Regions from separate parts of the Homo sapiens genome. Here region 2 is linked to region 1. The links are contacts of gene promoters, found by promoter capture Hi-C in human tissues and cell types (Jung and others, 2019). All regions are on one chromosome and are shown on one strand. The core of a region is centred on a gene start or on the middle of the fragment in contact, and the rest is flanking DNA. Distances in the headings are between cores, read along the strand shown.

Evidence for each region. Contacts are between HindIII fragments. The study calls those that stand out against the background at their distance.
Region 2: a fragment that was not itself captured here is called in contact with the fragment with the promoter of PDZRN3 in region 1 in 1 of the 25 tissues and cell types used here (IMR-90 fibroblasts).

What each region holds. Positions count from the first base shown.
Region 1 is chr3:73,622,318-73,629,994 of GRCh38, reverse strand. It overlaps PDZRN3 (PDZ domain containing ring finger 3), which reads left to right and starts at 5,054. Exons shown (of 10, transcript NM_015009.3): 1 at 5,054-5,892. The coding sequence starts at 5,170. PDZRN3-AS1 (PDZRN3 antisense RNA 1) reads right to left here and starts at 6,427. Exons shown (of 2, transcript NR_046681.1): 1 at 6,030-6,427; 2 at 2,096-4,583. RefSeq lists an enhancer at 7,121-7,635. The HindIII fragment of the contact is 5,146 bases long and covers 2,874-7,677 here.
Region 2 is chr3:73,684,825-73,692,501 of GRCh38, reverse strand. The region is part of intron 2 of LOC105377164 (a long non-coding RNA gene); the gene reads left to right. Among named protein-coding and RNA genes, the nearest start is that of PDZRN3, 64 kb to the right of the region's middle. The HindIII fragment of the contact is 4,900 bases long and covers 2,682-7,581 here.

The DNA of each region.
Region 1 (7,677 bases), core at 3,805-6,304:
ACAAAGCCTACCAATTCGCAACCAGATAGTGATCTACTTATTCATGTGGGAGTTGGCTGTTCATAATTCTGAATTGATTTTGTTATGGGAACAATGTTCTAAATGTTGATAGGTACTCCAACTAGGACACAGAGGCCTATTTAACTCATACTGTGATACATATACCTCATGCTGGTAGTACCAACCCACGCTTAAGAGCTGAGCAGCAGGAACTTACATGGAGCAGGAAGAGGGAACAGTTATTTGTTCAATATTTATTACGTTTCTACTAAGTGTTAAACATGGGGGACAGAACGTGAACACGATTGCCCTACTCTATAATAGAGTGTAATATGTGGCATGGACACTAGACATTGATCAAGCTGTGCTCCTCTGCTGCCCAAAATACTTCAGTGCCAATCAGCACTAGAATCAATTCAATCTCTTTCCTCCACAGGTCCTGCAGGCCCGTGTCCATTTGGTTCTCGCCTACTTTTTACCCTTGTTTGATTCTTCTTCGCTCGGCTTACTCTGCTCCAAGTTCTAGGCACACTCTGTCTAATTCAAATAGACCATGTGCTTGCTTCGAACCTCAGCACTTTCTCTTGTTCTGCCTGGATTGTTCTTCTCCCAGCTATTGCTGGCTCAGTCTCACCCTTCAAGCGACAACTCACACTTCCCCTCCCCAGACAGCCCTATTTCAAATGGGCCCCTTTGATTTTTCTCCAGCATGTAAGCTGCTTTTATGGTGTTGACAGCAGTGATTCTCAAACTTTAAGTGCACACAAATCACTTGGTGATCTTGCTAAAAGGCAGATTCTGATTCAGTAGGTCCAAGGTGCGGCCTGAGATTCTGCACTTTCAACATGCTTCCAGGTTATGCCCATGTTTCTGGTCCCCAGACCACACTTTGAGCAGCACTGTATTAGGGAACTTATCATATTCCATAATCATCTCATTTATTATTCATTTATTGATATCTGCTGTTCCTTATCGTGAAATGAAGGCTTAAGAGGGGAGGGACACTGCTTATTATTTTTGGTAGCCTTTGTAGCCCCAGTGCAAGAACAGCCTCTTCTTTGCATATAATAGCTACTAAATAATTATTAGATAAATTAAGACATTTCAAGTGTGATCATTGTTATACAAGGGTATGTGCTTGGGGCTGTGGAAACTAATCCCATCTGGAGAGTTGGGAAAGGAGAGCCAGACTTTTGCAGACCAGAATTTGCTCAAATTTGTAAGAAGTATTTTCGCAATTCTTGTTCTTCTGCCTAGTGTCCCTACTGTGATAACTCATCCTGACTTACCAAAGTCTTCAAAAGTCTCCAGAATAGAGAACTACCTTCTCTTCTCCCTACCTTTCAACCCATGGCCAAACGAATGTGTCAGGCTCCAGGATGGCTAACATTGGCTATGTTAACAGGCAAGCAGTCTGACCGAAATGTTTCACACTTGTTTTTGTGGATGACTGCTGTACCTTATTACGCTCTGGTGGTACTTTCATTTGGTAAAAGCAGATCCTTATCTAATTGTATAGTGCTATTTTAGCTAGTAGAATACAAATATGTACGCCTGGGGAAGAAAATTTAAAAAACAAATGTAAAAACCCTTGACTTTCTTTTTGTTTGTTTTTTCTAGTACTGAAGCCACAAATTATCCAGACCCTACGAGCAGCTGAGGATTGATAACCAGCAAACATGGAGGGGTGGAGTTCTTATCCATATCATTTGTAAGGGAGTGCCTCCTGAGCTGGAGCTTATGGAGGAGACGCATAATGCTTATGGTGATTAAGAGTGAGGGTTCTGAAATTCTCCTGTTGACATCCCTGACTGGAGGCATACCTTATGTAACCTTATAAGGTACCTACGCCTACTTAGATATCTTATGTAACCTCTATAAACCTCAGTCTCTCCATCTGTAAAACAGGGTGGACAACATATCTACCTCTCTATGTGCAGTGAGGATTAATGAGACAATGAAGGTCAAGTGCTGAGCACAGTGCCTGATACCTAGTAACAGTTCCCAAAAAAGTGGTAGATATTATTATCAACTTCTGATTAAACATGCTGATGGAAAGAACACTAAAAACAGAGTTTAAAATCAGAATGGGATCGTGGTGAATATAGAAATAGTATTTTTATTAGGCTTGGGGCCACATTTTGGTTAGAAAGTGCAGAATCAGATGATAAAAGGAAGGGGTAAGAGCAAGAGGTAGTGGAAGTCGCAAAAATAATTTGCAAAGTGACCAATCCAGCTGTCCACAAGGAATTCATCCATATATAAACACTCAGATGTTTCTGGGACGGTTGAGTAAGTATCTAATCCATGTCAGAAAAATCAGCTACTTTTCTCAGGAGGCCTGCCACACCAAACATTCATCTTCCTACAGTTTTTATTCATGTTTATTGGTATGGTGCCTTGAGTTTTCGATTTATAATAACATCCCTCTCTCACTGTGCAGCATTCACCAGGTGGTTCCACAGCCAGCAGAAAATGTGGGCTGACAGCATTGCCTGACTTCAGTAATGAGCAGAAAGCTTCCTTAAAACTGTGGTTCTCAACCTGGTTGTCACAACAAGGGGTTGTTACTATGTCTATTGGATAGTGGCCAGAGATGCTCCTAAATATCCTGCAATGCAGACGATAACCAACCCCCCACCCCCACACACACCACAACAAATAATTATTTGAATGAAAATGTCAGTAGTACCAAGGTTGAGTAACTCTGCCCTCAACTCCTTTTTCCTAATATTTTTGGCTCTCGTTTCTCCTGTTAAGTTTGGTGACTGAAATAATAGTCTTGCCAGCTCTGACATTGTAGGATTTTTTTTCTAACCTCCAAGAATTTTGATACTAAAATTAACCATTGAGGAGTGGCACAGACTTTCCTTTTGCCTAAAGAGGCCAATCCACAGTAGGCTATGGCTTCTCTGTGGCCTCAGCTGTAGCATTTCAGCAACAACCTCTCAATCTGCCATCTGGGAGACCACCCGAGGGGTGGTAGAACATCTCCAAAAAAGTGTACACCCCAAGTAAGCACTAATTTACATTTATGGTGTAGGACAGAACTTCTCTGTTTCTCAAAACCAGTTTGGTTTGAAGATTATCACCCTGTTGACACTAGCTCATTCTGTGAAACTGACAAGCCCACACACCTTTGGTGAAAGAATTTGTTTCCTACCCATTATCTGAGAGCCCATGAGCAGTTTAATGAATATACTGATGGAGGATTCCCTGGCACAAGCTTATCTGAACAAAGGCCAATAATATTCCACCCCATGCAGAATCCTATCAAAGCAATGCATTAATTGATTAAAGCAATTAAAAGAAAGTCTCCACCTCAAATAGGCAACAAATGCCACCAAAACTGATTAAAGAACACTGTCCAGTGACCTCAACCATGCACTGAAAAATCTAGTGAGTGACAACTTTTTAAAGGTCAGTGTGAAACAAGTAATCCTTATGAACATCAAGGCAATTCTTTCACTCTGATGAAGCAGTTAAATAGTGAAGGTCATGGGGCTTTAGCAGCCACATAAAAGAAAGAAGGAAAGCAATTAGACAAAATGGATGCTGTAATCCCACTTTCCAGGCCCCAGAGTCTCGCTGAATACAGAGCTCCTGCTTTACTGTTCAGAACTCTCCCGCTTCACTGTTCAGAAACTGGAAGCAGATTCCAAATGAGAATTCCATAGCTTGATTCCACTCTCACCAAAAGCTGACTGCGTGTTTCTTAGGAATGTCTATAGCCTTGGGAGGTAAAAATAAAATAAAATAAAATCAATGGATGATGCTATGAACTTTACACCCAGTTTGGAATTCCAAAAATATTCCTCCATTGCTCAGGACTGTTGCTGAATCCTACCCAGCCAGGTTTGCTGTACTGCAGGGAATGAATGTCCAGATCTATGGATCGCCAGGGTTTTCCAATCAAGTGGGAATCCAAGGACCAGCATGGACTAGCAGCATTGGCATCACTTGGAAGTGCTTTCAGTATGGAGATTCTCAGAACCCGCCCCAGACCCACTGTATCAGAACCGCAACCACATTAAAATGTGAGAAACACTGACCTACAGGACCCTACAGGGCACTTTTGTTTTGTTTTGTTTTCTGTTTTGTTTTTATCCTTCTTCTAGCCTGAGTTTCCTCAATGGAAAGATGACAGAGTGTACACACAAAACAAACCAAAACTGAAGGAGGGCAGTTGTTGACATGATCATGGGGGTGATGAGTCTTCTCCCAGTTCTAACTTCTGCAGTCAGCATCGCTTCTTTTGTAATCACGGGAAAATAATTTTCAAATGGAGCTAACCCTCTCACAACATTGTACTAATGATCTTTAAAGCGACGGATTTAGAAGCGCTCAGCACCACGCTTGCCACACTGCAGGGCAGACACTTCAGAGGTGTTAGGTGAAGTGGATGGAGCCAGCACGCTGGCCTCTCCCACTCCGACAGCTGGCGAGCAGCTCTTGTCCACCAAAACTTCCCCGGGTAGATTCACCCACCGGTCCTGGAAACCTGCTAAATCCTGAAGGTTCACAGAACCTCTGGTCAGAACTGAAGTTGCAGCCGGAGCTTCCCGCAGGCTCTGTAACTTTCCCTGGAATGAAATAAATAAATAAAGACCGTAAGTGCTGAGATAGCGGGCCCCAAGATATTTTTAGTCCTCTGCAATCAGCCACTAGAGGAAGGGGGAGGGAGAAGGGAGTAAAAAAGTTTTGATCCGTTCGGGAAGGGGCTCGAAGAGAACCCTTGGGAGAAAGCAGTAGCCTCAGCTCCAAACTCAGCGAGCTTTTCTCGGCTGGCGTTTTGTCTCCTATAGCGTAGACTGTAAGAGAACAGAAAGGAGTTTCCCGAGAAGATTCAGGCTGGCGTCCTGGGCTGGCCCGTCCCTTCTGGCGAGCCTCAGTGTCCTCCCACGCGCTTCTGCCTTCCAGCCTCCTCCCTTTTTCGGGGGGCTGGCGGGAGGCATCCAAGGCACGATGTATGTGCGCTCGCGCTCGCGCAAATACGGCCGGAGGAGTCCTGTTCCTCGGGCATTTTCCGAGGAAGTCTGGATCAATTAGGCTCAGTCCGGGGAGAGCCAGCGAGCGCGCGGGCGGCGTAGCCGGCCTGTCTGGGCCGCCTCGTGGGGAGGGAGGGGGCGCCCGGCCGCCCGGCGGCGACCCCGGGGCCTGGCCGCCACCATGGGCTTCGAGCTGGACCGCTTCGACGGCGACGTGGACCCGGACCTGAAGTGCGCGCTGTGCCACAAGGTCCTGGAGGACCCGCTGACCACGCCGTGCGGCCACGTCTTCTGCGCCGGCTGCGTGCTGCCCTGGGTGGTGCAGGAGGGCAGCTGCCCGGCGCGCTGCCGCGGTCGCCTGTCGGCCAAAGAGCTCAACCACGTCCTGCCGCTCAAGCGCCTTATCCTCAAGCTGGACATCAAGTGCGCGTACGCGACGCGCGGCTGCGGCCGGGTGGTCAAGCTGCAGCAGCTGCCGGAGCACCTCGAGCGCTGCGACTTCGCGCCCGCGCGCTGTCGCCACGCGGGTTGCGGCCAGGTGCTGCTGCGGCGCGACGTGGAGGCGCACATGCGCGACGCCTGCGACGCGCGGCCAGTGGGCCGCTGCCAGGAGGGCTGCGGGCTACCCTTGACGCACGGCGAGCAGCGCGCGGGCGGCCACTGCTGCGCGCGAGCGCTGCGGGCGCACAACGGCGCGCTCCAGGCCCGCCTGGGCGCGCTGCACAAGGCGCTCAAGAAGGAGGCGCTGCGCGCTGGGAAGCGCGAGAAGTCGCTGGTGGCCCAGCTGGCCGCGGCGCAGCTTGAGCTGCAGATGACCGCGCTGCGCTACCAGAAGAAATTCACCGAATACAGCGCGCGCCTCGACTCGCTCAGCCGCTGCGTGGCCGCGCCGCCCGGCGGCAAGGTAGGCGCCTGCTGCCCGCCCCGACCTCCAGCCAGGATCCCTGGGGACCCAGGGCCCCGCCCCATCCCTTTGGGTACAGGGATGCCCCGAGCTTCCCGGGAACATCCTTGCTTCCTCCCTCTTCTTCCACTGCTTACCAGCTGTATCACTACTTGCAGGTCGCTGAACCTGCCTGAGGTGGAACACTGTGGTCCTTTATAGTCTAGACGTAACCGGTAAAGTATAGCTGTACAGCTTCAGGGATTCTGGAAGGACGAAAAAGAATTCACAAGCAAGTGTAGGATAAGAATGAAGAATGCAGCTCCAGAGTCAAAACTGCGTTCAAAGGCTTTGCTGCTCAGACCAGCTAGGGGATCTCGGGCAAGTTGCTTACCCTCTAGAGGTCAGAAACCTATAGACTGACACTTAGGAGAGGAGAGATGGACACATTGGGTGAATTGTATCCGTGCATCCTCTAGGATTCCAGAAAAAAAAATAAAGGGAACCCACAGCCAGTGTAGATTAAGTTAAGAAGGATATCAGAAGAGAGGCCTCTGGGGTAAAAGCTGGATGCAAGCGTGGGCTTTGCAGCCAACTAGCTGGCTGACCTTGAGCAAGCTGCTTAACCTCTCTAAAGTTGGAAACTATGGTCCCTAGAGACGTGGTATACAGAGTAAAAACACAGCCAGGCACCCCTGAGGTATTCATCCAGGGATTTCAGAAAGAATTAAAGGAGCACTCTGCCCCCAACAAGTATAAAGTAATAATTAAGTGTGAGTCCTCTGGAGTTAAAACTGTTTTCAAATCTGGGCTTTTTGCTGACCAGCTGGGTGAGCTTCTGGCTTAATTCCCAGATCCCTCAGTTTCCCTCAGTGCGAAAGGTTTTTGTCAGGCTTCAGGGAGAGAGTTTAGTAGAAGGGCCTCGTACTGTGCCTGGCAGAGAGTAAATAAATGCTCAACAAGTGTTACCTAGAATTATTTTTAACATCTCCACCTGAGCGGTCCCCTTGAGCGAGGGTTTACTTTGCTCCAGGCTGGGTGCTGCATTCTTCCCAGTCATTTCCTTTTTAATCAAGTGAGGTTGGTGTGACCCTTCCCACTTAGTAGATGAAAAAACTGAGGCTCATTAAGGGGCAGTTTCATGCCTGGGTCACAGCTTTTGGGTGCAAAGCTGCATGTTGAACCTTTGCGTGCCCATCTTTCCAGCCCACGTTCTATAAACTATCATGTTGCTCCTCAGTGCAACCACAAGGACCATTTATTGAGTGTTTATTAAGTGCCACCAACAATAGGAAGTACTTTACATGCATTACCTATGTTGTCCTTTGAGATGAGGGAACAGACTCAGAGAAGTTATATAACTTGTCCAAAATTAAGTAGTGACTCAGGGAGCAGAGCCGGACTCAGATTCTACCTCAGAGTTCTCAGTTTTGGGGCATATTGGCATTTTGGGCCCCATAACTCTTAGTTGGGAGGGGAGGTACTGTGCTGTGCATTGTAGGATGTTTAGCAGCATTCTTGGCCTCCCTCCCAAGTCGTGACAATCCAAATATTGTCAAGTGTCCTCTGGAGGGGCAAAGTCGCCCAGGTTGAGAACCACTGGTTTCCCTGATTGCAGAAGCCACATTTTCAACAGCTGGGTACTTCTGCCTTCCTGGGGAGGGGCCTGGGCCTGCTGCCACCGCTCTGGTTGCCTGCTCCAGATGGTGTGGCAGAAAGGGGAAAATATTTGCCCGAGGCTCCCCCAAGGGCCTGTGTCTGCTTTGCCTCTCTCTGCCCTCTCCCAGCCCCCTTTCCTTACGTGCA
Region 2 (7,677 bases), core at 3,882-6,381, 62 kb before region 1:
ATAGTTGACCTGACTAGCACTATCAATCACTTCAATCTAATTTATGCTTATAGAATACTTCACCCAACAACAGCAGAATACACATTTTTCTCAAGCTTACATGGAACATTCACCAAGAGAGACCACATTCTGGGATATAAAACCATACCTTGATAAGTTTAAGAGGATACAAATCATGCAAAGTATGTTCTCAGACTGCAATAAAATTAGACTAGAAATTAATAAGAGAACAATAGCTGGAAATTTCCCAAATATTTGAAAACTAAGCAACACACTTCTAAATAACACATGGTCAAAAAAGAAGTCTTACATGAAATTTAAAACCATTTTGAACTAAAATGAAAATATAACTTATCAAAATTTGTGAGATGCATTAAAAGCTTAAAGGGAAGTTATGGCATTAAATGCTTATATTGGAAAAGTAGAAAAATCAAAAATGAATAATCTAAGCTTCCATTTTAGAAAACTAGAGAAAAAAGAAAAACTTAAGCTTAAATAAAGCAGGAAAAAATACCATAACAAAAATTAGGGCAGAAATCAATGAAATTGAAAACAGGAAAACAAAGGGAAAATCAACAAAAGTAAAAGCTGGTTCTTTGGAAATATCTATCAAATTGACAACCCCTGGCTAGACTAACCAAGAGAAAAACAAAGAAGACACAAATTATTACTATCAGAAATAAAAGGCCATCACTACTCCATGAACATTAAAAGTATAATAAAGGAATTATCCTTGTGGCATTTGTGAGCAAACTCTATACACACAGATTTTATTATTTACATAAATGAACCAATTCCTCGAAAGACACAAACGATTAAAACATACATGAGCAGTAACAGATAATCTGAATAGGCCTATGTTTATTATAGTAATTAAATTAATGATTAATAACCTTCCAAAAAGAAAGAACGAAGGCCAGATGGTTTCACCAATGAAATCTATCAACCGTATGAGGAAGAAATAATAACAATTCCCCATAATCTTTTTCAGAAAACTGAAGTGTCAGGGAATACTCTGTTACTCATTCTATGAGGCCAATATTACTTTAATGCCAAAAAAAAAGATAAAGGCATTACAACAAAGTAAAATACAGACCAGTATCCTCCAGGGTCTTCAACAAAATATTAGCAAAAAATATTCACCAAAAAATTAGCTAATAAAATTCAACCATGTATAAATTACACACGGTGAAGTAGGATTTATTCAAGGTATGCAAGGGTGGTTCAACATTCTAAATTCAATCAGTGTAATCCACCACATCTATGGATGAAAGAAGAAAAATTATATGATTATATCAATTGCTGATAAAAATCTTCAGCAAAATAGAACTGGGGGTACTTCCTCAATTAGATAAAGAACATCTACAAAACAAACAAACTACCAGCTGACATCACCCTTAGTGGGGAAAAACGGGTGCTTTCTCCCTGCTCATATTTACACCATACTTGAAGTACCTAGTGTAACAGAATAAAAAGCTAAAATAAAAGGCATACAGTTGGGGAAGAAAGAAACCAAATTGTCTGTAGACAATGTGATTGTCTATGTAGAAAATACCAAATAATTTTTTAAACCCTTCTGTAACAAATAAATGAGTATAGCAAGGTTGCAGGATAAAAAGTTAGTATACAAAGTTCGATTCTTTTTTTTTTTTTTTTTTTTTTGAGACGGAGTCTTGCTCTGTGGCTGAGGCTGGAGTGCAGTGGCGTGATCTCAGCTCACTGCAAGCTCTGCCTCCTGGGTTCATGCCATTCTCCTGCCTCAGCCTCCCAAGTAGCTGGGACTACAGTCACCTGCCACCACGCCCAGCTAATTTTTTGTATTTTTTTAGTAGAGACGGGGTTTCACCATGTTACCCAGCATGGTCTCGATCTCCTGACCACGTGATCGGCCTGCCTCAGCCTCCCAAAGTGCTGGGATTATAGGTGTGAGCCACCATGCCCGGCCAGTCGACTGTTTTTCTATATACCAGCAATGAACCATTGAAATTTGATTTTTTTGATTGCCATTTACGGTAGTATCAAAAAAAAGCATAGATATAAATATTTTAAAATGTAAAAGATCTATATGTGAAAAAGAACAAAACTCTGATATAAAAAATAATAGAACATGTAAATAAATAGAGAAATATTCTGTATTCATGGATTGGAAAATTCTATTTATCCCAATTTGATCTAGAATTCAGAATTCAACAAAACCCCAACCAAGAGCCCAGCAAGCTATTTTGGTGATATTGACAAACTGATTCATACATACATAAAATGCACATTCTAATATGTATATATTAGAATGCATGTAATACACACACACACATACACACTAAGGCAAAAGGCCTAGATTATCCAATACAATAGTAAGGAGTAAGAACAAAAACAAAATGAAAAAAAAAAAAACACAAAGAAAAAAAAGAAAAAGTTGTAAGACTCATACTACCAAATTTTAAGATTTATAAACAGCGTGGTATTGAGGAAACTATAGACACATAGATCAATGGAACAGAATAGAGAGCCCAGAAATAGACTCATGCAAATGTAGGCAACAGACCCTTGACAAAGAAGCAGCAGCTTTTTTTTTTTTTTTTTTTTTTTTGAGACAGAGGCTGGAGTTCAGTGGCCTGATCTCAGCTCACTACAACTTCCACCTCACCGACTCAACCAATTCCCCTGCTTCAGCCTCCCAAGTAGCTGGAATTACAGGTGTGTGCCACCATGCCCAGCTAATTTTTCTATTTTTAGTAGAGACAGGGTTTCACCATGTTCTGGTCTCAAACACCTGATTTCAAGTAATCTGCCCACCTCAGCCTCCCAAAGTGCTGGGATTACAGGTGAGAGCCACCCAGTCTGGCCAGGAGTAGGGGCATTTCAATGGACAAAAGTTAGTTTTGTCAACAAATAGTCCTGTAACATCTGAACATCTACATTGAAAAAAAAAAATGAATCTAGAGGGAGATGTTATGCCTTTCATAAAAAACTGGATTTTAGACTAAATGTAAAATGCAAAAATATATAGTTTCTAGATAAAAATGTAGGGAAAAATCTAGTAACCATGATTTGGCAATGAGTTTTTGAGCCTAACACCAAAAGCATAATCCATGAATGAAATTTGATGTTAGATTTTATAAAAATTAAACATTTCTGCTCTGTGAGGAACATTATTAAGAAAAATTAAAAGACAAGTAAGAGACTGGGAGAAAATATTTGCAAAACACATTTAAAAGGACTTGTATTTAAAATAAAAGGACTTGTATCTGAAATATATAAAAAACTTTAAAACTCAACAGTAAGGAACCAAGAAACCCATTTTAGAAAGCTCAAAGAGTCTGAACAGACATCACACAAAAGAAGGTGTAAGGGCAAATAGGACACACATGGCAAATGAGCATAGAAAACGATGTTCAATGTCGCATGCTGGATAGGATCCTGGATCAGAAAAAGAACACTGGAGGAAAAAAAAAAAAACTAAGGAAATCTGAATAAAGTATGTAAAGTATAAACTTTAGTAAAATAATAATGCATTAATATTGGTTCATTAATTGAATCAAATGTACCAATACTAACATAAGATTTTAATAATGGGGAAACCAAGTGTGAGGTATATGGAATTTATCTGTGCTAGCTTCAAAAATTTTTTATAAATCTAAAACTGCTTTAAAAATAAAGTTTTGTTTTTGTTTTTGTTTTAAAAAAAAAAAACACCTTTCTTTACCAAGAAAATTGAGGGTAATAAAGTAGAGCACAACATCGTGTTGGTGGGGGGTGGAGGAGTAAGCATGGGACTGGAGACTCAAGACCCCGCTCTATTTGAGCCCTTTTATTAATATAGCTGCATAGCTGCATGACTCAGCTTCTTGGAATTTCAGTCTTCTTCATTTATTATAATAATGGTAGTTAAAATTTTAACAAAAGTCATGAGATCAGGAACCCCAACTATCTTGTTTATCACTATAACCCCGGTGCCCAGAAGAGGTTAGACACATCATAAATATTCAATAATTATTTGTTAAGTAAGGGGATGAATGAGGGAAGGAAGGCAGGAAGTGCTCTCCCACCCATTACTCCAAGTCATGCACTCAATACTACATGAGGTGGGAACTACTGTTCTTCCCCATTTGGCAGCTGGTGCACTCCGGCTGAAAGAAGTTACATTTCTTGCCCACACACAACCAAAAAGCAACACAAACAAGACTCAAAGCAAACGGTCTGACCCCAGACCCCACACACCTAACCTATGCCCCCTGCGCCCTTAACTTCTAGTGTAAGAACAATATGGAAGGAATTTGCCCTTTCAAATATCCCATGCTGCACTGCTTCTGCACCATGATGGAGCCTCATTAGATTGTCTCTAGGGTCCCTTCCATGGTGCCAGTTATAGGACTCAAAAGAACAGAATCTTCTCCCCAAAGACTCTCCCTAGCCTCGCTCTGTTCCTATTTGCCCCCTACCCCATTTATCTCCATTCAAACTTTGCTTGGATTAAATCACCTCATCCATAATTTGCCTTTCTCTGGATGCTGCAGGGGAGACAGAGACAAAGATAAATGCATGACCTCCACATTCATTTGTATGATAGCAGTATCTTGTTCTGACATCCAGAGGTCTGGGCGTACTCCACAGGTTCAAGTGAAAAGAATAAGGTCTGGGCTGGGGGTAGTTGGACAGGAGGCAGAACAGAGACTTTTCCCTTTAAACGCCAGGATGATAAAAAGCAGCTCAACTCAGATAACATCAGAAAACTGCAGCCCAAGTAAGATCCCTGTGTTGGAGTTCCTGGTTTTTGTTGTTGTTGTTTTACCCCTAAGTTCAGACCTAATTGTAAGATAATGACTCTAGAGTAAGATAAAACTCAGGGAAAATGTCAGATTGTGGAGGAGAAAGCTTTTATTCAAATTAAACATCTTTGATGCTAAGAAAAAATATATATAGGGCAGATGTCAACTGCTATTTTATAGCAATCATCTAATTGCTAAATTCCTCCTTAAGCATAGTGCATTTCTTTTTTTTTTTTTTTTTTTTCTTTTTTTGGAAGAAGAAAGAGCAAAGACGAGTTCTTTTCAGCAAGGATTCCAAGCCAGTCATCTCCTGTGTTTTGAAACAAGCTGACATTTTAGTAGAAAATTAGGCTTTCAATATACTGCTCAAGATAAAAGCTTGCATCCTGCACTATGTAGTCCATGAATGCTGTTTGGATTTTTTTTTTTTTAATGCTTTTACAGTTTTTAGAGGATTTGTAAGCACCACACATTTTTTTTCCCTGAGTAATAAAACTGGGGGAGATGTTTGCAAGTCGTAATGTTCCATAAATGGTTCCAAATTTACAGTTGCACTATAAACTATATTAAGTGATCCAAAAGCTAGTTTGTTTCTTTCACCGGTGCTTTCAGAGTCTATAAATTAGACAGTTTAAGCCATGTAAACACCAAGCGAACAGTCACGGAATCACTCTGGGACAAGATGCACACGTTGACTTTTCAGAACATTTTGTGTCCCTCCACTTCCAGGCATTTTCAAATAAATCATTGGTGGAATGGAGTCAACGTCCCCACCTCAAAAGGAACCCAACAGGCAACTGGATTCTGATGTCAGATTCCAACCAACTAACAAAGATGAGAAAGGTGACCCATACGGTGGAGAAGGCTTATCATGTGACAACTGCTTTGTCCTCAAGAGACAACTCTGCCTTTCCATCAGAACCCTTCTTTACACAAGACCCAAGGTTGGCCTTGCAGAAATTGCTAGAGAATAATAATAATAAATATGATTACTGTTATTATTTTGTATTGAAATTGTATAAGGTCCAGGTACTATGTTAAACCCAATACATGAATTATTCATGCTAGCCTCACAACCTTATGAAGATTATTAGATGGGGCAAGTGAGGCTCAGGTTAACTAATGCAACTACCTGGTTCAAAGTAAAACAGCCAAGTCTTTGGGCACCCAAAGCTAAGCCATTGACTTTGGGTTTATAAATGGTTATGTCTCGACAAACATAATTATTTTGAGCCTAAGCAGATAATAAAATGCCTTGAGTCAGGCTTGTGTGCACTGTATCATGCACTATGAATTCAGTTTAGCCAAAAGAAGAGCAGTAATCATAAGGATGAGAAGGAAGAGGTAGCTTCATTACCTTTATTGAGTGATTACTACATGCCAGGTACTGTGCTAGGCACAGTTCATGAAGGTTTTTGTTTTCTCTTATCATAGCCCTCAGAAGTAGACTCCATTAGCTCCTCCATTTTGCAGATGAGAAGCCTGAGGCTTAGACAGGTAAAGTAGATTTCCTAAGTCACATGACTAAGAGTCTGAACTGTGGCTTGAAACCGTATTGAGCTATGAGACGCATTCCCTTTCTACTGCACCAAGCTGTCAATACCATCTTTGCAAAAATGACAGGATTAGAGGCTTAAACATTTATCAGATATATGCTGAAACCCAAGTCCTCTTCCAACTTTTTAATCTGCTGTGCATGATAAAACAGGACCAGAAAGCCCTAGAGGTCAGGCCATACCCTTTGCCATACTGACCTCTCCTCCCCAAGTCACAAAGAGAACTTTCTAAGTCCGAGTCATGGTCACATTTACCCTTTCTGCTGAGAGCCCATTGCCCTGTTTTGTTTATTTGTTTGTTTTTAAAATATCATTGAAAAACACAAATCTCACCTTTCAAATCATGTGTAAATCAAGTCCCCATTTTCCTTTCTTTCTTATCCTGCTACAGTGGACATTTGTTGTTTTTGCCTCTCCATCATCCCTTCCCCTTATTTCTGGTAACAGAAACTTAATTTGCATTTGCAGAATAACCCTCGCCCGCTTCTCAATCCATGTCTCAAAAAATAGAGACATATTCATGACAACTTTATTTTAGCACTTGGATCCATTCTTGTTTGAAATTAATTGCTTAACTTTTCTGCTACATGATCCAGTAAATTCCCCTTTTTGCTTAAGCCAGTTTTGTATGGGTTTTGCCCTTTATAAGCAACAGAGTCCTGAGCCTTCCCAAGCCACAGCTTTAAGCCTAAGTCACAATTACAACTGAAAGATTGAAATTGTTCTTCATGTCTACCTCCACCCTTTCCTGCAGTGTCCTCCGCAGTACTTCCAAGCACTTAGCACTAGAGTGCACATTTCTCATAAAAGGGGAACACATTCATTGGGTTCAGCAGACTTCCTGAAACACCTTAGATACAGACAGCACACTCTCCAATTAGCAACGTAAAGACCACACCATCATCATTGCTTTCTGCTTCCTGGTGTTGGTAACTAGATCCCTTGCAGCTGTCTGCACCCCTGAATCCTCCTATTGTTTTGGGGATTAAGGGCTGGAGTATGAAGTGTGTTCAGAGGTTGACAGCCATGATTATTATGAGTGCTCAAATGTTGGAAGGGCTCCCAAGGAAGGGCGTGGAAAAGTACGCCTATGTGTACCTTTATTATGCAAAACAAAAACTAACAGATAAAAGCCATGAAAAGCAGCTTGACTTTTCTGATAAATACAGCTTTGGGCAATTATATTTTTAATAAACTCCTCCAGATGATTTTGCAGGACACCTGAAGTCGGGAGTTCGAGACCAGCCTGACCAGCATGGAGAAACCCCATCTCTAACTAAAAATACAAAATTAGCCAGGCGTGGTGGCGGGCGCCTGTAATCCCAGCTACTCCAGCGGCTGAGACAAGAGAATAG